Regions from separate parts of the Homo sapiens genome. Here region 2 is linked to region 1. The links are contacts of gene promoters, found by promoter capture Hi-C in blood cells and fetal thymus (Javierre and others, 2016). All regions are on one chromosome and are shown on one strand. Each heading gives the region's core, a stretch centred on a gene start or on the middle of the fragment in contact. The rest is flanking DNA. Distances are from core to core; before and after follow the strand shown.

Region 1 (3,422 bases), core at 568-3,067:
AGCCGAGATCGCGCCGCGCCACCCCACTGCACTCCAGCCTGGCGACAGAGCAAGACTCCCTCTCAAAACAAACAAACAAACAAACAAACAAAAAACAAACCCCGTCTCTACTAAAAATACAAAAAAAATTAGCCGGGCGTGGTGGCGGGCGCCTGTGGTACCAGCTACTCAGGAGCCTGAGGCAGAGAATTGCTTGAACCCGGGAGGCCGTGGTTGCAGTGAGCTGAGATCACTCCACTGCACTCCAGCCTGGGCGACAGAGTGAGACTTCATCTCAAAAAAAAAAAAAAAAAAAAAAAAAATGTAGGTTTGGATGCCTTCCACCCAACTTCTTCCCCCACCTCCAGGAATTCAAGGAGTCACTCAACAGCCCCCTGAGGCTTGAGAAAAATGTTCCTTGGCCCTATGGGCACCATTCTGCTTGTTGCAACCCATGCTCCCGGAAGGGTCCCCAAGTCCGAGGGAGCCACACAGCTGCAGAAGCCGACAATCTGGATACAAGCACGCCCCCATGCAACCCACAACCCAGGGATGTCTAACTCCAGGCAAGCCCTTCTCAACTCACCAACTTGGGTCCCCAGGCCCCAAGGCTACTGACCCGAGTCGCACGGCCCTAGCCGTCCCCCCCCCCACTATCAAGACCAAGTCTGGATGTCTACCCACAAACAATCCTCCCCCACAAACCCGGGTCCTAGTGGCCAAGCTGCACCATCACCACCACAGTGCACCAGCCATCCACAAGAGCCCTAATAACTGGACTGAGGTTGGGCACGGTGGCTCACGCCTGTAATCCCAGTACTTTGGGAGGCCGAGGCGGGGGGATTACTTGAGGTCAGGAGTTCGAGACCAGCCTTGCCAACATGGTGAAACCCCGTCTCTACTAAAACACAAAATATTAGCCGGGCGTGGTGGCGTGCGCCTGTAGTCCCAGCTACTCGGGAGCCTGAGGCAGGGGAATCACGCCACTGCACTCCAGCCTGGGCGACAAGAGCGAAACTCTGTCTCAAAAAAACAAAACAAAACAAAAACCAAAAAATTAGCCGGGCGTGGTGGCGGGTGCCTGTAATCCCAGCTGCTCGGGAGGCTGACGCGGGAGCATGGCTTGAACCCGGCGGCTGGGGTGGGGCGCGGAGATTGCAGTGAACCGAGATTGCGCCACTGCACTCCAGCCTGGGCGACAGAGAGAGACTCTGTTTCAAAAATAAATAAATAAATAAATAAAATTTAATAAATAAACAAATAAACAACCCGACTGATGCCCAAGCCGCGTGCCTCCCACTAATGGGGAAGTTTGCTCCAACCGAGGATATCATGTCCTCCAAAGGCACATTTGCTGGCCCAGAGACCTCCGAGGCGCGATGGTGGGGAGGGGATGGCGGGATACTAGTGGCAGGATGCTGTCTGGGTACCCCAGGCAGAGCCCACTCAGCGGCCCCCGAAGTACCGGGGACGCACCTGCGAAGTAGCTCGGGAAGTCGGTCCCAGGCCTGCACTGGCCCCTCCAGGTCAACATACTGGGCCCAAAGTCCCGCCAGAAGCACGCGACAACGCCAACGCCCCCTCCCCACCAGAGGACCTCCGCCAAGACCTCTCTCCGGGGTGGACCACGCACGCCCAGACCCCACAGCCGAAACTCAAAACACCAAGGAACATGTGGCCACGACATGGACTGCCCATGCCAGCTTTCCCGACCTTCCTTCCAGTGGAAGGCCCGCGAAAGCGGGGACCACCTCCGGGCTAGCTCACCAGAACTGTGAAAGGACACTCACCACGCACCAGGCGACGATGCCGGAACGCGGAAGTACGCGAGCCGGACTGCCCCTGGGCACGGAACTACACTACCCAGACTGCCACGGGGCGCGCAACTACCCTACCGTGGATGCCCTGGAGCGAGGGACTACAACATCCAGAATGCTGCGAGGGGCGGGACCGCAGCATCCAGGAGAAATTGTGAAAAATCAGAAAGTAAAATCTAACTTTCGGGTCTATGAGAAGGGTGGTCAGGTGAGCAGTAAGTCTTCTTTAACTTTTTATACGGTCCTTCTAATTTTTTTTTTTTTTAAAAAGATGTTACATGTCCTCCATCCTGCAAATTCACACCTGTGATTGTACACCCCTGAACTTTATCTACTTACTTATTTTTTGAGAAGGGGTCTTGCTCTGTCGGCCAGGCTGCAGTACAATGGTGTGATCATAGCTCACTGCAGCCTCAAACCCCTGGCCAAGCAATCCTCTCACCTCAACTTTCTGAGTAGCTGGGAATACAGGTGCATAGCACCACACCGGGCTAATTTTTTGTTTTGTTTTTTAGAATCTGGGTCTCGCGGCCGGGCGCGGTGGCTCACGCCTGTAATCCCAGCACTTTGGGAGGCTGAGGCGGGCGGATCAGAGGTCAGGAGTTCGAGAGCAGCCTGGCCAATGTGGTAAAATCCCGTCTCTACTAAAAATACAAAAATTACCTGGGCGTCGTGATGGGCGCCTGTAGTCCCGGCTACTCAGGAGGGTGAGGCAGGAGAATCACTTTGAACTCGGGAGGTGGAGGTTGCAGTGAGCCAAGATCGCACCACTGTACTCCAGCCTGGACAACAGAGTGAGATTCCTTCTCAAGGGGGAAAAAAAAAAAAAAGAATCTGGGTCTCGCTATGTTGACCAGGCTGGTCTGGAACTCCTGGCCTCAAGCAATTTTCCCACTTCAGGCTCCCAAAGTGCTGGGATTACAGGCGTGAGCCGTCCTTGTGGCCCAGGCTGCCTTTCGAGTTTATTTAGGGCCCTCTAGCCAGAGGTGGTGAGATTGGCAGTAACTCAAATTCCAACTGCTGGGATAGGTGATTCTCCTCGGGCTAAGGCTGGTGTAAATACTCCCTCCATGCGTGAGAATCAGCTGTGTTTGATCCAGTTTTGCTTTCTGGTATAACAGGGCAGCACTGAGTTCAATGCAATGTCTCATCATTGCTGTGCTTGCCGTCTCCCAAGAACATAGATTCTCTCTCCGCACCACAGAGCCACTGCTGGGGGATGGGTCAGGGGCATTGGTGATTCAAGACTGTCTTTCCTACCTTTTCAGTGCCTCTTTCAGTCATATGAAGTAAAAACCAGGTACTGCGAGTGCTTACCTGATTTTTGGTTCTTGTGAAGGTGCTTTTGTGTGTAAATAGTTGTTAACTTGTTTTTCTTACAAGGGGGAATGATCAGTGGAGCCTTCCATTCCACCATCTTGCTCCACCTCCCACCCCCATGTTTTAAATGACAGTGTGTATGAATGTACTTCTAAAAATGCCAAAAATACTGGGGTTTTTTTTCCTGTTATAAAGAAGAAGATTCTGAAGTTTTTTTTTTAATTCCAATTGATTACAAGAAGATAAGGAAAAACTAAACTTGAGGACATTTAACACTATAGCAATTAAAGTTATCTTACTAATGCA
Region 2 (3,753 bases), core at 344-2,843, 3.2 Mb before region 1:
GGTATATAAGAATACTTTGTTCTAACTATAAAAATAAAGTTTAATATCTTAGACATCATCCATTAGAAGCATAAAAGAAAGTATATCATAGGAATTTCAACTGGAGTGCAGTGGCGCAATCTTGGCTCACTGCAACCTCCGCCTGCCGGGTTCAAGTGATTCTCCCGCCTCAGCCTCCTGAGTAGCTGAGACTATCTTTTTTATGCTTTCGTGCTTTCCTTTTTTTCTTCGCTTATACCCAGTTAATCTTAATTATCCAAGACACTAATAATGCACATGAGGTGGGGTGGGGAGTTGGGGAGTGATGACAATCTTTAGGGAAACAAAATTTAAATAATTTAAGTGGCCTAAAATAATTCTCACTCTACTTCAAAACTGCATTTTGTAAATTCACAGCTTTTCTCTTTACTATACCTGAAAATGGCCCAAGGAAGTCCTATTCTGAAGAACCTGGTTTTGGTGTATCCCAGATAAACGCCTTCTACCATTGATTGATCCTCCCTGGCTCAGTCATTTGCATGTTATCTGCTTCCTCTAACTACTGGTGTCAAAGGCCTTTAGCTGAGCTAGTCTGGCTTCCATCCTATGCCTTCTCTTTTCTAAGTTTCTTCTTGCTCAACTATTTCCAACTGTATGATTTGGCTCATCTTCCTTACTACATTTTTCATGTCATCAGTTTAAGTTGTCGAGTGGCACTAAATCTTAAAACAAATCAGAAGAATTATTAGGGTAAACTGAAAACACCAAGTAATCTCTCTTAGCTTCTTTTAGTTAGATGTTCAATTTTGAAGTATCTGGATATCTCTTTAGGGCATATACTTCTAATAACTAACTGCCCTTCTCCTTGAAGACACTATTTTAGCAACAGCGGGAACTTAAAGTCCCATAATGTCTGTGCTGACACATTTTAGGCATCGTCTAGGCTAACCCAAGCTCCTTATCTTACAAATCAATAAACTGAGCCTCAGAGGGAAAATTTTTTCCTAAGATCTTTACCCAATAAATGATTTCTCACCTTGCGACACTTTTAAATGCTCTTTTCTTTCTAATCATAGTCTGTTACCACTTCAATTACTCCTTCACCAACCGGTTTTTAAAGGAAAAAGATGATTAATACCCTCAGATGATGGTATACTTCCTTAAGAGTTTTTTTCAGGGAGTTATCTTTTTTATTCTTGTGATCTCAAGTTCCAAATTATTCGTGCATTTTAACTGCATACCACGAATGTACGTAAGTAAGGGATTTCCATAAGTCTACATACTAGACGAAAAAACCCTGAGATAATAAAGTGGCTTAGTAAGGAGTTTGTGTCTTAATCCTAGTTCCGCTACTGATTACCTGTGACAAGTCACTTCAGGTCTCTTTTTTTCACAAGGAAGATAAGAAAGGTGGGCAAGAGCCATGATTCTCAACTTTCCTTGGATTCACTGAAGGCTGAAATAAGGTCCAAATATGTAATGAAAACCGAGTTTGCTTACTCATGACAAAGCTGCACAGGCTAAAATGCCAAGCTTACTTTGAAGTCACACTGGGTAGCTTGCACTGATCAAGTTCTGATTGGCATATATACATGTCTTCAACTAAAAATTGCAAAATTAATTACTTTTAGTTTGAAAGACAAAACTGTAAACATATTTGGCTTACAGGGAAATAATGACAAGAATGAAGCTTTCAAAAGTACAGAGGTGGGAGTGGAGGGAGGAAAAAGCAGGTTTGGCACAAAGAAACAACAGTTCACGTAAATATAAAATTTCACCAAGGAACTTCTGTGAAAGTGTCCAGATGCAAAGCACTCTATGTCAAATCTCAATTCTTGAAAACAGCACTTGACAAACACAAATTAGGCACTCGGGGTTGGATTATATTTTTTCTTTATATTCACATTAAGTATCCAGCTAGATTATATTGCACAGAGAACTTAAAAGAGGGGTTCTGCAAGGAGTTTAAAATCTCTTGATGCACAATACAATAGTTCATTCAGCCATGTTCAACCTGTACACTTAAAAGGGCATTAGCAGGGGATTACACTTCATTTTCAATCTACAGAGACTGAAATCTGAAGGCACTGCCAACTGCTGCCTCACAGTCTCACCGTGCAACTACCAAAGACGGAGGCTGTGTGCCACCAAAGGGCCCTGGATTGGGGCACAGGAGATGTGAGTGCTAATCCAGCTGGCCCCAGGGGCAATTCCCTATACCCAGAACAGTACTTTGCACGTAACTGATGCTCAATGAATGTCAGCTGAGAGGAAATGCAAAAATATCCACCATGTGCCCATTTATATTATATAGTAAACACAAAGATCTTTGTGTCCCTGCCCTCAAAAAACTAAAATCCAATTATGTAAAACATGGACCGTTTGTTGGGAGGAAGAGAGTGAATACTGCTTGGCAATTATTATGAGGCAAAGGATATACAGTGGTTATCTTGGAAAAGCCTTGCAAAGTAAGCCAGGTACCTCTATTTGACACATAGAAAACCAGGCTAAGAGAAAGCATGTAATTTGTTCAAGATCACACAATTTGTAAAATGAGAAGCCCAGATTTCAATCCAGGTCTGCAAAGTTCACATTATTTGCAGTATGCAACACATTCATACACATCAAGGCAGCCCAGGACGAGACAGGGATTTGGGTCCAAGTTTTACTTCTGCTATTAAGCTGTTGCCTATCTCTCTAGAGAGAACATTTCTCTGCATTTTTTTCACCGGCACGATTGGAGAGCAGAGAGGTGTTGGTAGGAGGGTTAATGAACTAGATCTGTGGTTTTTTGGTTTGGTTTGGTTTGGATGGGCGGTGATCAGAATTCTTCTGGGCCAGGACTTGTTCTAATGTGGTTGTTTCCCTTCCCTGCTCTTAGAAATTATTTGAGAATGGTACCTTTAGCTATTAATGGAAATATACCTCTCAAGTGAATGGGAGCAGAAAGATATGCCGGCTCCAAGCTCCCTCCTAGCAAGCTGAAGCTGAGAGTCTGACCCTGCTGAGGGGATGCTACTGAAAGTTGAGAGACAACTTACTCACGGATCCATGTTTCCCTCCCAGCTGGGTGCTCTGTACCCACTGGGTGCTCCTCGTTTGAGAGAAATGGGGATGTGTGTCCTGCATTACTTAAGCGGCCTGCCTGGGGCTCGTCTCCAGATTATAGAGACCTTCAAGAGAAGTTCGTGGTGTAAAATACTTGGGTTCAAATAGGGGAGCGCGGACATCCCTCGCTGGGGGCGGCGGCTGCGGCCTGTCGCGCCGGTAGCGGGAACCACTTCCTGGTCCGCATCTCCCGCCCGCGTCCACACCCCGCTGCTGCATTTCCCCCACGGCGCAGAGCTTCCGAGGCGGCAGGAGGCTCCGTCCGACTCCCGCGTGAACGCCCGGCCCGGAGCAGGGTCCCTTCAGAGATTTAAAACACAACGCTCTGGAACTCCAACTCCCCCGGCGCCCAGCCCGGTTCCCAGGCGTCGGGGCGGGGGCAATCCCCTGCGGCTGCAGGGAAAAGGCCCCGAGCCTGTTGGAGCCCCCGGCCCTGGCCGCGGTCCCACCGGTGACCCAGGTGCGCCGCGCCCGCCCGAAATCTCGTCCGACGTCGCCCGGCACCTGTCGCGCCCGGAGCCCGCAGGACCTGCACTCACCTCGTTCCGGGGGCCCACGGCCCGTCCCCGCGTCTCTGGGCCCAGCTCCTGCCGCCGTCTCCGCCAGGGGCCCCGCCGCGGCCGCCGCCCACTTTCGGTTTCCCCGCACCACCGGAGCCGCCCCGCG

Evidence for each region. The method cuts DNA at HindIII sites, captures the fragments that hold promoters and counts their contacts. A CHiCAGO score of 5 or more calls a contact.
Region 2: a fragment that was not itself captured here is called in contact with the fragment with the promoter of ZNF169 in region 1 in 2 of 17 cell types (activated CD4 T cells and non-activated CD4 T cells); the score reaches 6.7 in activated CD4 T cells.

Annotation. Positions count from the first base shown.
Region 1 is chr9:94,257,693-94,261,114 of GRCh38, reverse strand. It overlaps ZNF169 (zinc finger protein 169), which reads right to left and starts at 1,817. Exons shown (of 5, transcript NM_194320.4): 1 at 1,770-1,817. It overlaps LINC02603 (long intergenic non-protein coding RNA 2603), which reads left to right and starts at 1,804. Exons shown (of 3, transcript NR_160773.1): 1 at 1,804-2,004. RefSeq lists enhancers at 360-1,005, 1,335-1,464, 1,006-1,652, 1,495-1,814, 1,653-2,298. The HindIII fragment of the contact is 11,618 bases long and covers 1-3,422 here.
Region 2 is chr9:97,412,112-97,415,864 of GRCh38, reverse strand. It overlaps TDRD7 (tudor domain containing 7), which reads right to left. Exons shown (of 17, transcript NM_014290.3): 1 at 3,627-3,753. Among named protein-coding and RNA genes, the nearest start is that of TDRD7, 1.9 kb to the right of the region's middle. RefSeq lists enhancers at 2,923-3,182, 2,787-3,286, 3,287-3,753 and silencers at 3,124-3,418, 3,503-3,712, 3,733-3,753. The HindIII fragment of the contact is 157 bases long and covers 1,515-1,671 here.